Linked DNA regions of Homo sapiens: regions 1 and 2 are each linked to region 3. Evidence: promoter capture Hi-C in human tissues and cell types (Jung and others, 2019). All regions are on one chromosome and are shown on one strand. The core of a region is centred on a gene start or on the middle of the fragment in contact, and the rest is flanking DNA. Distances in the headings are between cores, read along the strand shown.

Region 1 (4,331 bases), core at 141-2,640, 120 kb after region 3:
CCTGGGAGAGAATCCACAGAGAGGAATGGGTGTGGAGAGATTGACAGGCATGATCATAATCATGATGGTTTTCATCACAAAAACGTTGTGTGGGAATGATTTCAGTTGTTGTATAATAGAAATTCTTTTTTTTTTTTTTTTTTTTTTGAGACAGAGTTTTGCTCTTGTCACCTAGGCTGGAGTGCAATGGCATGATCTTGGTTCACTGCAGCCTCCACCTCCTGGGTTCAAGCGATTCTCCTGCCTCAGCCTCCCGAGTAGCTGGGATTACAAGCATGTGCCACCAAGCCCAGCTAATTTTTGTATTTTTAGTAGAGACAGAGTTTGACCACATTGGCCAGGCTGGTCTCGAACTCCTGACCTCAGGTGATCCACCTGCCTTGGTCTCCCAAAATGCTGGGATTACAGGCCTGAGCCATTGCGTCTGGCCAGAAATTCTATCAATTAAAATTGTCCAAGAGTGGATGAAGATGACTTTATCTGGGGATGTTGGAGTAGAAGCTAGCCTACCATAATTCCAGAATTCTCTGGAAGGAATCTTTGTGTGGGGTAAGAAGTCTGGCTAGTTTATCATCACTTTTAGATTTTCAGAGCTGGAAGTAACCCTACAGCTTCTGGAGAGCAGGGACTCTCCCTAATCTCCAGATCCCCTGTGCCTTGTGCAGTACTGGGGCAGGAGGTGTTGATATTTGTGATGTGAATTGGGAGAGTTAGCAATGCTGTCTCCTCAATGTTCTGGACACCAGCCTTGCTTATTCTGACGTCCTGTCTTCATTCACGCTGTTGCCTTCACTTGGGAACCTTTCTCCATCCACTCATCTTGTTGAAACATAGCCTACCCTTTGAGCCCCTCAGATTCACCACTCCCCTGACCTCTGCTCTCTGTGCATTCATTCTCCACTTATGACCAGTTCTGTGTTGTTTAGCCTGCCCTTTGATGATTCTCCTTGGTGATTGCCTTTTGACACAGTCCTGTCCCTCAGCTGGAGTATGTCCTCTTCTCGGGTCTTTCAGCAGTACCCTGTATTGTTCTGGGGAGACACATGTGGTCAGTAAGGACATCCCCGCTGATGAGTAGGTATTTGAGAATTCTTTCTTCCCCGCTTCCACCTCTCCTTTCCTATTTTTTTTTTCCAATTCATTCTTCATTCCATGAGTGTTTAATGGTCTCAGCCTAAAGTCCCGTGGAGACCAACATGTTCATGCTGTTACATTGCTAGTAGAGAGCACCAGCCCTGAGTGTTAATGTGGGGTTTGGGGAGAGGAAGCATTTGGATCTGGGATATGGCAGCAGCCCATCAGCTTGGCGAGCCTCTGCTAGGGTTTGGAGACCTTGCTTTTTTACTTAGCTCTTCCCTTGCTCTTTTCTGCCCTGCTGCACTCTCCACATCCAGAGGCCCTCCCCCTAAGTAATCCCAATAGAAATGTCTTGGACTGGTGCTTGAGATAAGGGCAGGGAGAAAAGCCTGGAATTAGACTCTCTTTGAAGGAAATATGTATCTCCTGGACCTCACTGGGCTATAACTGAAGAATGGGACAGAGATTTCAAAACTAAAGGCCAGGAAGAAGAAAATGTATGAAAGACACCAAACATATTCTCCCAGTTCACCTACAACACTCCTCTCTGCATGTAGATCTAGAGAGGCTTTCCTTTTTGGCATCCCTGATTCTCATGCCCATGTATTTAATGGTGGGATTGATGTATTTCTTTAAAAATCATTCATTGATATTCTACTAAGTGCTGAAAATTTAACCTGTAATTCAAGAAATGAATGTTTGGCCCAACTTCAAATCCCACTCTTCTCCTACCAAGCCCATTCAGTCTACCTCAGCCAGGTTTCTCACCAACCACCATCTTCCATTGGTCTCACTCACACCTTTATCCTGCCTTCAAACACTGGCTCCTGATGTGATGGTTTTCATCCCTGTCTACTCAGATCCATCTATAATTCAGAGTCCCCCATGCCTCATATCTCCCATGGCTCTCCAGATCCACTCCCCATCTGTCCTCTGCCCTCTAACCTGCAGGATATCCTGTATGAATTATGTCAATGGGCATGTGAGCCCCTTGGCTTCTGGCTTCTTGGGCCAATAAGGAGGGACTTCAGTGGGGATAAAGTATTTCCCCGCTTCATTCCCTGCTGTGGGATCACCTCCATCTGCCACTGTAAGGTCCCTGCCTTCTCTGTGGTCTGCCCTACATGAGGACCTCTCCCTTTCTGAGTCAGTAGCTTCTCCCTCTCCTTCTCCCTTCAGCCTGAAGCTGGCCACAACTCCACTGCTACTGTCCCTGTGTTCCTGCACTAGCTCTTCTGCTTCCTCTTCACCCTGCCTGCCCCATGGTAATAAACTCTCTGTAAAGAAGCTCTCCTAATTTGAATGTTTTATTCTTTCCTGGAGAGTCCCTGACATATGGCTCCCCATATCTATCCCCCATTTTGTTTTGGAACTTATGTAAATCTTATCTTTGGCACACAATCTGGTAATGTTTTCTGAATTAATTTAAAAAATAATTTTAATGCTTATAGATCCCCTGCCTCTCCTGCTAGATTATGACCTCTTCAGCAGAAGGCCTGGGTAATTTTTTTCTTCCTATCTTGTATCTCTTCTAGAACTTGATAGCAAGTAGGTGCTCAAACAAGTACCTGTTTATGGACAGATGAACCATTACATTAGCAAGGTCAGGGCGGAGGGGCATGGGCTTAGAGTTCAAGTTCAAATGATAGGGTTCAAACGTGGCCTTCTTTTTCAGGGGACTGTGCCACCTTAACAAAATCATTGTTCTTTCTAAATCTCAAATTCTTTCTCTCAAAATTGGCATAATATAAGCTACTGCATGGCTCCATATTTCATTTTAATTTTGTAAAATGTGTGGTTGTGATAGTGGTTTTCTGAGGCCTTAATAAAATCTGATTTAAGAAAGCTTACTCTATTTTATATATATTGAATCTGAAGATATAATTTGAGGTCCAATATTGAAAATTTATAAGTCAATTAAAAATCTAAAAATGAGTACAATTTTGTGACTTATAAGATGTTTCAGTCAATGATGGACCGCATATGTGATGGTGGTCCTATAAGAGTATAATGGAGCTGAAAATTTCATTTAAAAATAATTTTAATACTTACATTTCTCTTGCTTCTCCTGCTAGGTCATGACCTCTTGAAAAGGTTTGGATGATTAATATTTTTTTTTTATCTTGTCACAGGGCCATGAAGCATTACTCATGTATTTGTGGTGATGCTGGTGTAAAGAAACCCACTGTGCTGCCAATTGTGTAAAAGTCTAGCACAGTTTTGTACAGAATGTAATACTTGATAACAATAAGTGACTATATTACTGGTTTATATATTCACTACACTATGCTTTTTATTGTTTTCTTAGAGTGTGCTCCTTCTACTTATTAAAAAAAGTTAACTGTAAAACTGTCTCAGGCAGGTCCTTCAGGAGGTATTTGAGAAGAAGGCATTGTTGTCATAGGAGATGACAGCTCCATGTGTGTTACTGCCCCTGAAGACCTCCCAGTAGGACAAGATGTGGAGGGGGAAGACGGTGATATTGATGATTCTGACCCTGTGTAGGCCTAGGTGAATGTATGTGTTTGTGTCTTAGTTTTTAACAAAGAAGTTTAAGAAGTAAAAGAAAAAAATTTTATAATAGAAAAGAGCTTATGGAATAGGGATATAAAGAAAGAAAATATTTTTTACAGGTGTATAATGAGCTTGTGTTTTGAGCTAAGTGTTATTATAAGAGTAAAAAGTTAAAAGTTCATCAAGAAAAAAGTCATAGTAAGCTATGGTTAATATATTATTGAAGAAAATTAAAAAAAAAATTTAGTGTAGCCTAAGTGTGCTGAATATATAAAATCTACCAGTAGAGTCCAGTAATGACCTAGGCCCTCACATTAATTCACCACTCACTCACTGACTCACCCAGGGCAACTTCCAGTCCTCCGAGCTTCATTCATGCTAAGTGCCCTATACATATGTACCTTTTAAAAATCTTTTATACTATATTTTTAATGCACAGTTCCCATGTTTAGATGCACAAATACTCAACATTGTGCTACAGTTGCCTACAGTATTCAGTATAGTAACATGCTGCATAGGTCTGTAGCCTAGGAGCAATGGGCTACCCCATATAGCCTAGGAGTGTAGTAGACTGTACCATCTAGGTTTGTGTAAATATACCCTATGGTGCTTGCACAATGACAAAATCATCTAAGGAGACATTTCTCAGAACATATTCCTGTCATTGACACACCACTTTATATCCTACTAGTGCTAATAGATGTCATTTACTGAGTATTATGTATAAAAGTTTTGAAAGT
Region 2 (4,417 bases), core at 884-3,383, 81 kb before region 3:
TTCCAGGTTCTTTTTTTTCAATTTCATTCTCTTTAGTCAGACATAGAGTGTGCTTGCTGGGGCACCTAGTGTGGTCACCCCAGACAAGAAGAAGTCCCCCTCTGTCTCTCACCGAAACAGGCAGCCATGAACACAGCCACAGCTGGCAGGATCGCCTATTATTTGGTTGGGTGAGAGCATTTGGCTTGGTCCCGTCCCTGCATTTGCTAGTGGCACACTTTCTCTGATCTCAAAGGAGAGAACCAACCAACAGCAATAACACCAGGTCTGCTTTCTGGAATCAAAACAACTCTACTTTAAAGAATAATTTTACTTGGTCATTTTGTGTTTCATTTGTCTGCATGCAGGTTTGTGTGGAGACAATGTGCCCTCGGAACTTCGAGCTGCAATCCGGTCTTTTATTCCTGCCCCTCCCTCTGGTGGGCGTGCCTGCCCCGAGAATTGTTTGATGAGGTTTTTGAGGCCATGAGTTTCCCTGTGAAGCCTTTGAAGAAGGGATGGTGTTCGAGGGGACTCTAGGCTATGTTTCAGCTCTGCTGTTGGCCTCTATCTATCTTCCCCCCTCCCCGTCCCAACATACACTCACGTTTCTTTTTGCCCTTTCCCTCAGACTTACTCAACTTGTCTTTGTGATTTCAGAAAAATGCCACTGGATCTCCCAGTATGAAGGATTAGCACAGATTATGGGGAACAGTGTTAATTATGGGTGGAAAGGGGGCTGGCGCGTCGCTCCAATGTGCTCCTGATTTCCCCTGGGCCTTTCTGCCTGGTAATAAGCCTTCTTTAATCTGGCAGGCCCCTTGGTGAAATCAGCACCACGGACAGTGATATTGATTGCTTCTGAGAAACCATCACAGCTGCTCAACCAAATTACCTTTGATATGTGACCTTTAATGTAATTACTGCAACATCAAAGTATTTCTATAAATTATTAAAGAACTAATACACTCCATCATTTAGCTATTCTATTATATGTAAAATAAACAACCACAAGTTAATGTTAGATCCTCAACAATCCACACTTGCTACTGAAATACTCCCAATTCCCAGCCTCTCCCCTTTCAAAATCCTAAACCTCCCCCTCTCACCTTCTCTCTTTCTGTTTCCCCTTCTGATTCCGGCTTTTAGCCACCATGAAACTCCCTAGCAATCTCTCTCAAGCTGATGAAGGGCCTCCCATAACAATGTGGTATTTTCTATTCCATTTGGGTGGCTCTAAAATATCTGTCACAGTCTCCCCCAAAACAAAGTACCATAAACACTTTATTAATCAGCACAAACCTTTCTCAGAAGCCTTTGATTATCCTACAATATGGCTTTATGCTTCACACATAACATGGGGCGATGTGAGGCATATTTCTGCCGTCTTACAGAGGGCACCCAGAAAGTAATTACTATAATATATGTGCATGTAGCCGCGCAACTGAAAAAACAACTGGGGAATGGCCACCCTGCCAGAGCTGGGCTTCACACAAAATCTGTGCGGTGCTCGATTTCCATATATTTGCATCTGTGGGTATGTTATTAAGATGACTCAGCCCCGTGCTTTGCAATCACAAATACCAAAATACAATACAAAGGCTGTCTTAATGGAAGGAAGGCCCTGTGTAATTCAGCTCTCCCCACCCCTAAACGAGTAAAGAAAGATCTTCGATGCAAAGGAAGGCTGCCCCCGCCCGGGGTTGCATTTTCTCTCCGTCTACCTGGTTAACCTTTCCCGCTGTGGGGTAGAAATGGAAACGTGTGTTTACATACGGTTGGCTTGGTAAGAATGTAAACATGCATGTGTAAGCATGGGTGTGCATACTTATAGAACACATGTGCTTCCCTGCAGTGTCCATTGTATAAGCGTCAACACTATATTTAGAAAATCTTTAAATTATGCCCACAAACACACATCTTTCCATTTATCCTTAGATACTCAGCAGCCGTATATCTCTCCCCCCTCACCACCGCCCCATCTCTCTGAACCCACAGGAGAGACCGCGCAGACCCTTGACCCGAAGAATACTTCTTATTTTATGGTGATGAACTAGCCTCGATAATAGCCATGGCTGATATCACACCCAGTTAGGGGGGCCATAAATAATTCTCTTCTCCCCCGCACAGAAGCTATAAACCAGGGCCGAGGCGCGATAGTTTATCAAAGACGAGGGCTGGCTCCTTAAATAAACCGCGGTGATCTCACTTGCGGCGCCCCCTCCCACGCCGGCCCCCTCCTCCCCCACTAGAGCGGCCCGCGTCGACTCGATGGGCGGACTCGATCGCGCACGCGGCCCGCGGGCCCGGCGGAGGCAGCTCCCGCTCCGGGGACCCGGGACGCGCCGCTCCCCCGCCCCAGGCTGCCCGCGCAGGAACTTCACGGCCACGGCCAAGTGGGGCCCCTGTCCCGGATCCCGTTGGGCCCGGACGGCCGAGAGCCCAGGGATTTGGGGGGGCGCGCGGGCTCCCGAGCTCAGGCGGGGCGGCGGGCGCCCTGCCGTCCTCTCCCCGCGCGCCGCGCCGCCGCCCGGCCTCCCGAAGTCGCCCCCTGTCGGCGCGTCGGCCGCTTGCGCCACGGCGGGCGCCACTTACCCCGGGCAGAGTCTTCTGCTCGTGCAGCGCGCTCTGGGCCTTCAGCGCTGACTCACGCTCGCAGTAGGTGAGGAAGGCGCAGCCTGGGGAGGAAAGCAAGCGCCAAGAAGGGTCAGTGGGGCGCCCCCGGGCCCGCCGACGCGCCCTGCCGCCCGCCCTCCAGGCTCCCGCCCCTCCCTGCCGCTCGGTCCCTGTCCCCACCTCTCTTTCTCTCCCGTGCACTGTTCTCGGAGCTTCTCTGCCTCTCGGTGTTCCCGGCTGTCTGCCTCTCGTACCTCCCTTTGCTTTTCTATTTTGCTCCCTCCGCGGAGTCTCCCCACCCTGCATCTTCCCCCCACCACACCCCCCTCTCCTTACGGTTCTCTCCTTACCCCGTACCCTGGTGCCTCAGACCTCTCTGCCCTGTTTCAGCGCCAGCCCCTACGCTTCCTAGAAGGGGCAGCTTCCACCCCTCACCCCCAGCACCTCTAGCCACACTTGACCATGGGCTGTCTTTCTGGCCGGTAGGAGTGCTGGGCGCTGCTCCCTCAGGGATGGTGGAGGGCTCCTCTAAGCCTTACAAATAAAGGCTCAGTCTGTAAGGAGGACCCCAAGCCAGGCCCTCCTAATAAAATAAACGTACCCTGTGTCCCCTGTCCCAACCCCTGTTGTTTGATTTGCAGTGACAGATGGTCTTCACACCCCTCCAAGTCAGAGGGCTTCTAGGGCATATCCAGGCCACCGACTTACAGCACTAGACCACCCTTGCTCTGCCTTTAATTCCCTAGGTGACCTTAACAAATCACATCCTCTTTCTGGCCTCAGTCTCCCCACCTGCGAACTGAGAAGGCTCAGTCTAGCTCTCCCACTGATTAATTCTAACTGGGCCACACCCCACCTCCTCGCCAGGGAATCCGGATTTGACAGAAGAATATACTCAAGGGGTGACTTTTCAGTGCTGTCCTTTAGGTGTGGTGACAAGGCCAAGAGAGTGGGGATGGGGGAGTCTTTCTGGGAGTTCCCATAAGCTGTCCAGCATGCCCAGTGTCAGGCCTTCTTTCTCTGCCTGCAGATGTGGCTGAAGGTGGCTTGGGAGGCCTGCAAGGCTCAAAACCATGGGGAAAGCCCAAAAGCTCACTATGGCGGAAGCAGGCTTGAATGTTCTGGTGAACAGTCACCTCAGACCTTTTCAAGCCACCCATGGCCCCAGAGAAGGCACCCTGTGGAATGGCTGCCTCTCTTGTTCCTCTCTCTCTCACGTGATCTTATCCAAGGCCACATCCCCAACAACCTGTGTTCCCTTCTGCCCCCGCATTCCTCTGCTCTCACCACCTCCTCACCTGGTATACCCCTCTTCCCCATGTTCACTTCTCCGAAACCCATTGATCTTTCAAGAATCTGATCAAGTTCTACCTACTCCAGGCAGCCCTCCTTGGCTGGTCTAGTCCATCCCCAGCCAGTCTCCACAGCCAGCCATTTGGTCATTGCCATGGCCATTTATTTCCTGAGTGCTCGCTCTGTGCCAGGCTCTGTGCCAGACCTCGTGGCCCAAGCCCTCCTCTCATGAGGCCCACAGGCTGCTGGTGCCAGTATGGTACCTATGTCAGCCCTTGTCACCAGGCTTGCTTTAGACTCTGGTTGCCGGCCACAGAATGCTCCCGGTGTCCTCTGCAGCTCCTGACTCTTCCACCAACCAGCCTGTACCCAGTGAAAACCCCTTTCCTCCCCTTCCAATGTAGAAATTCCTGCCTCCCTTCCCTTTCTGGCTTCAGAGAGGAGGTGGAAAGGGAATGTATTTGTGAAAGGAACGGAGATGAAAGAAGGAAACAGGGAGAAAAGCCTGGGAGACAGAAACTCTCAGCTC
Region 3 (4,477 bases), core at 341-2,840:
AATCTCTCTCAGAAAGCATTTAACTTGCCCACATAGATCCAGCACCGATTCATTCCCGCTGCACATCCTATATATTACTGTTAGGAAGCGGAGCACTGGGCTAATTTCGTCACCCACCAGCCACCCACACACATTCTACAACTGAACACGTTTGGGGCTCTGCTTTAAAGATAATAAAACAAGGAGAAAACAGGCAGGCTGCGGACAATTCCCATGACCACTTTCCTAAAAAGTTGCTGTGTTTTAATTCTTTGATTATTCTGTCTCCCCCTCCCCCAAGCACTCACTGGCAATGATCGCTTCAAGGGAGAAATAATGTACTATAAAGCTCTCTGCATGGTGAGTTTGGGATAAATTAGGGTACACCTTTCAAAATGCAAATCTCGCACACACATATTTTTTTCCCAAAGCCCCGCTTTCCTGGGAAGGGGACTATCCAGGCTTGCCAGACCCCCCACTCCACCCAGGGGATGGCTGGTTCCTTGCTAATTCTTGCCTTAGGTTTTATCACTGGTTCCTTCAAACATCCAACCCCCCCACCCCCAACACACACCACCATTCACACCACAATCAGATTATTGAGGCACACAGCTCGACAGGGAGAGTTTACTGTTACATTTAAATAAAAATTTCTCTTTGAATTTGTCACCTCTCTCCCTTTTAGACGGCTGCGCTCCTGCTACTCTAGCCCGGAGCAAAGGATGAGGAGACCACCTCCTTTAGTATTTTCAGCACCACGGCGATGGACAGCACCCTCGGTCCTCGGCCGGCCAGGAGCCCGCGAGTCCGTCCGCTCAGCGTCCTGGGCTCGACCGGTGCAGCCTTCCCCATCCCCATCTTTCAGGTCGCTGTACCCAAAAATCCAAGCCCCGTCTCCTCGATCCCCTCTCTCTTTCTCTTCATCGGCGCCCGCTGCTCTCTCCATGGCATCGTTCCTATCAGCACCTCGCCCAAAACCCAGTCTTGCCCCAGCGAACAGCTCCCCACGCACCCCAGCTCTGGTCTCCGCTGCCCGAGCGCCTCCCTCCACCGCGCCCGCCCGAGGCTTCCTCTCGCTTAGTCCGCCGCTCGTCAGTCGCCGGCCGGCCGGTCGGCCCGCCAGCCCGCTCCTGCTCCCCGGCAAAGTTGGGAGGGAAAGGTGTACTCACCTTTGTGCATGCCTGTGAACCTGTCCTTCAGAACCGTAAGCTCGTAGATTTTGCCAAACTCCTCGAAGAGGGGCTTGAGGTCCTTCTCATCCAGGTTGCGGGGGATCTGCCCAATGAACAGCTTGATGGCATCGTGGTCCTTCATGGGAATGGTCGACGGGTTCCCCGGGCTGTGGCTTAATCCGTTCATGTGCCCGGCACTGCCCGGGCTGCTGCCGAGCCCGTTGGTACTGAGGCTTGCGTTGTCAGCCTGTCCGTTTGCTAACGTGGCCATCTTTATATACATAGAGAAAATCTTCTTTCCTTTTATTCTTTCTCGCTCACACTCTCTCGCTCCTCTCTCTCGCTCGCTCGCGCTCACACACGCACACGCATACACACACTCGGGTTCTCTCCCCCTCGGTTTCTCTACACCTCGCTCTCCGCTCGCTCTCTGCTCTCTCTCTTTCTCCTCTTCTCTCGCTCGCTCGCGCTCGCGCTCTCTCTCTGCTCTCCCCCCTCTCTCTCTCCCTCCCTCCCTCTCCTCTCTCTCTCCCTCTCTCTCTCCCTCTCTCTCTCCCTCTCTCCTCTCTCTCTCGGTCTGATCTGATTTTTTTTTTCTTTTTTTCTTTTTTTTTTTTTTTTTTTTTTTTTTACATTGAACAGACAGGATCTCTGTCCTTTCCGTTTAAACAGGCTGGACCGGTTCAAGTTCCCAGCCAGACCAGGGGTGGGGGTGGCGAGTGTGCGCGCGCGGAGGAGGGCGCGGGGGGCCGGGAATGGGCGCGCTGTGGGGGCCCGCGCCACGGCGGGCGGCGGCCGGGGGCAGGGCGGCGTGGGGCGGCGGCCACCGCGCCTCCCCCGTCGGCGGCCCCGCGCCGTGGCGATGGTACAGTCCGAGACGGCCCCCGGCTATAAATAGCGCCAGGCGCATGGCTCTTCGGGAGGCGCTGAGATTCCGGGCCCGGCGGCCGCGGGGAGCGGGTGTCCGTGAGGAGCCGGGCAGCCGGCCTCCTCTCTTTGCCTTTTGGGGGTTCTTTTTGTAATAGCAGCAGGTGCAACTTTTTGTATTTTAAAAATAGTGATTTTTATTTTCGTGTGGGTATGTAGGGGGGCTTTATCCACCAAGCTATGCTCTATTAGGGCGCCAGGCGGGCGAAGCAAAGGCAGGGATGGCGGGCGGGGCGGCGGCGGAGGTGGAATGGGCGCTTTTTTCTTCCATCTGGCTTTATTTATTTATTTAGACTAGAAAAGCGAGCCGGCTTGGAGGGAGTCCGCCCGGGGATCCGAGCGCGCATTCATCAGTGTCGAGAGAAAAAAAGCTACATAAATATATATTATGTGGATAAATCTATAGACAAGAGCTCTCTCGCGCGCGCTCTCTCCCTGTCTCTCTGTGTGTGTCTTTCTCTGTTTTTTTTTCCTCCTCGCACCCCCAACCTGCCAGAGCAGCCCCACATCTTCCTCCCGCCCGGCATCTACCGCCACCCAAGCCACCTGCCAGGATGGGGCTGGGAGCTGTCGGGCCGCGCCGGGGGGCAGAGGGACGGGGAGTAGAGACTCGGGGTCCGACCCCCGCCCCAACCCGCTTCCGAAGGCGGAAGGTGGGGGTCCCCGTCCCGGGCGGCCTCCCCCGCCCCGGAGAGCGCGGCTGGTCCCCCGGTGGCTGGCGGGAGGAAGGTAGGAGTCGGGCGCCCCTGCCCGCTCGCCCGCCGGAGGGGGAGGAAGGCGCTGGGCGCGGTGGCCGGTGAGCCAGCGCGGGGGATGGCTTGATTTGCCCTCGTCTGCTTTACGGGTTCAAATAGAATATATTTTTTTAATCACCATCAAAAGAATAAAGCCCCTGAATCGCTATCTGGGTTGCCGCCGGACCGAGACTCGCGCGGCGTGCGCTGCCCCCGCGGGTTTCGTTTTCGGCACCTACAGCTCCCGAGGTGCGAGGCTGAGTCGTTCCTGCCGTGGGGACCGGGGGTCGAGCCGCCCGGTCCGGACCCCGCCGGACTCCCCGCCAGGCCCACTGGGGCTGGCATCTCGGCTGCGCGGGAAAGGGAGTGGCAGGCGCGGAGCCGGGAGCAGGGTCCGAGCGGCCCCGCCTGTAGGGGTGAATACTGGTGGTGAACTTGGCTGGGGTAGCAGATTTTCACGTTAATGATATTTACCTGCACCCCGTCCTCTCTCATGTTTGCTTTTTCAGGGCAGCCTCTTCGCTTCAGAAGCCTGGCAAATTGAAATAACGCGCCCGCTCCCCCGCGGGCTGCGGGGCTGGGGAGCTGGGGCGGCGGGGCTGAGCGGCTGGCCTAACCCCCGCCGGCCCTCGGCTAGCCACTTTCGGGTTTCAGGGTTTCTCTTTTCTTGCCCTCGGATTACATTACGTTACTAGAGGATATGTCTGCAATTTTAATTAAAGAAATGAGACCCCAGCTGCCTGCAAACCCAGGCCAACCCCATTTGGTACAAGCACAATACGGAGCTCTCCAGCGCCGGAGGAGGCCCGGAGGCCCGAGGTTCGCAGCCCCAGGCCCCGAGTCCGCTCAGGACGCCTCTCTCTGAGGATCCCGGGCCCAAACCAAAGAGCAAGTATGATTTTTAGAACTGTGGAACTTCATCCTTTCATTTTAGCTTCTCCTGCCTTTGCTTGCCGGAATCGGGTGTAAGTATGGTTAATTCGTCACTTGGTTTACCGGGTTTACGTTATCCGGTGTTGTATGCTGGTCTAAGAATCGACCAAGTAGATGACTCGAACAGAAACTCACATATAGAGCCTTTGCCATGTGGTGGTTGTGTATTTGGTGTGCCTTTGAAGTGCCCTGATAAGGGGGGCAAGTCCCTGCTAAGCACTTGGAGAGTTTGTGTGTGTGGTTTGGCCGTGTGTGCCTGCTTGTGTGGATGCAGCGTGGGTCTCTGCACGGACCCTGCGTGTATCCACACTGCATATATGTGTGTGTCCATACCAGGTTGAGACCTCCTCCTTCTGGTCCCCTAGGACACATCAGCAGTGGCTATTAACTCTGTCCAAGATATCTCTTCCAACATCATCCTGTGGTGCTGGTGCATGGCACCCAGGATCCTACAGCTGAGTGGCATGTATTTTCTGCTATCACAGGGGAGTTTAGGAGAGTAAATTCCTGCTCGAGGTCTGTTTTTCTCTCCTTGCCTCTCAACCCCTGAAAGCAAAGCCCGGACATCGGAAAGGGAAAGGGGCCAGCTAAGGGCAGCTGGAAAAGAAGGGAACTGCTCAGGGGAGAGTCACTGAAGTTCACCCTCCTCTTCCTGCCACCACCCAAGGCACCCCTAGGTCCAAGTAAATTATTCACAGGGGGTTAATTACTCATGTTATTATTAATAATAGT

What was found. Contacts are between HindIII fragments. The study calls those that stand out against the background at their distance.
Region 1: a fragment that was not itself captured here is called in contact with the fragment with the promoter of CELF4 in region 3 in 3 of the 25 tissues and cell types used here (H1 embryonic stem cells, liver and lymphoblastoid cells).
Region 2: a contact is called between a fragment that was not itself captured here and the fragment with the promoter of CELF4 in region 3, in 2 of the 25 tissues and cell types used here (H1 embryonic stem cells and dorsolateral prefrontal cortex).

What each region holds. Positions count from the first base shown.
Region 1 is chr18:37,686,818-37,691,148 of GRCh38, forward strand. No RefSeq gene overlaps it. Among named protein-coding and RNA genes, the nearest start is that of MIR4318, 32 kb to the left of the region's middle. The HindIII fragment of the contact is 5,790 bases long and covers 1-4,285 here.
Region 2 is chr18:37,482,951-37,487,367 of GRCh38, forward strand. CELF4 (CUGBP Elav-like family member 4) reads right to left here. Exons shown (of 13, transcript NM_020180.4): 2 at 2,575-2,657. Among named protein-coding and RNA genes, the nearest start is that of SNORA111, 19 kb to the left of the region's middle. RefSeq lists an enhancer at 569-1,615. The HindIII fragment of the contact is 6,201 bases long and covers 1-4,417 here.
Region 3 is chr18:37,564,208-37,568,684 of GRCh38, forward strand. It overlaps CELF4 (CUGBP Elav-like family member 4), which reads right to left and starts at 1,591. Exons shown (of 13, transcript NM_020180.4): 1 at 1,149-1,591. The coding sequence starts at 1,434. LOC124904288 (a long non-coding RNA gene) reads left to right here and starts at 2,070. Exons shown (of 2, transcript XR_007066345.1): 1 at 2,070-2,182; 2 at 2,372-2,481. RefSeq lists an enhancer at 1,135-1,638. The HindIII fragment of the contact is 29,207 bases long and covers 1-4,477 here.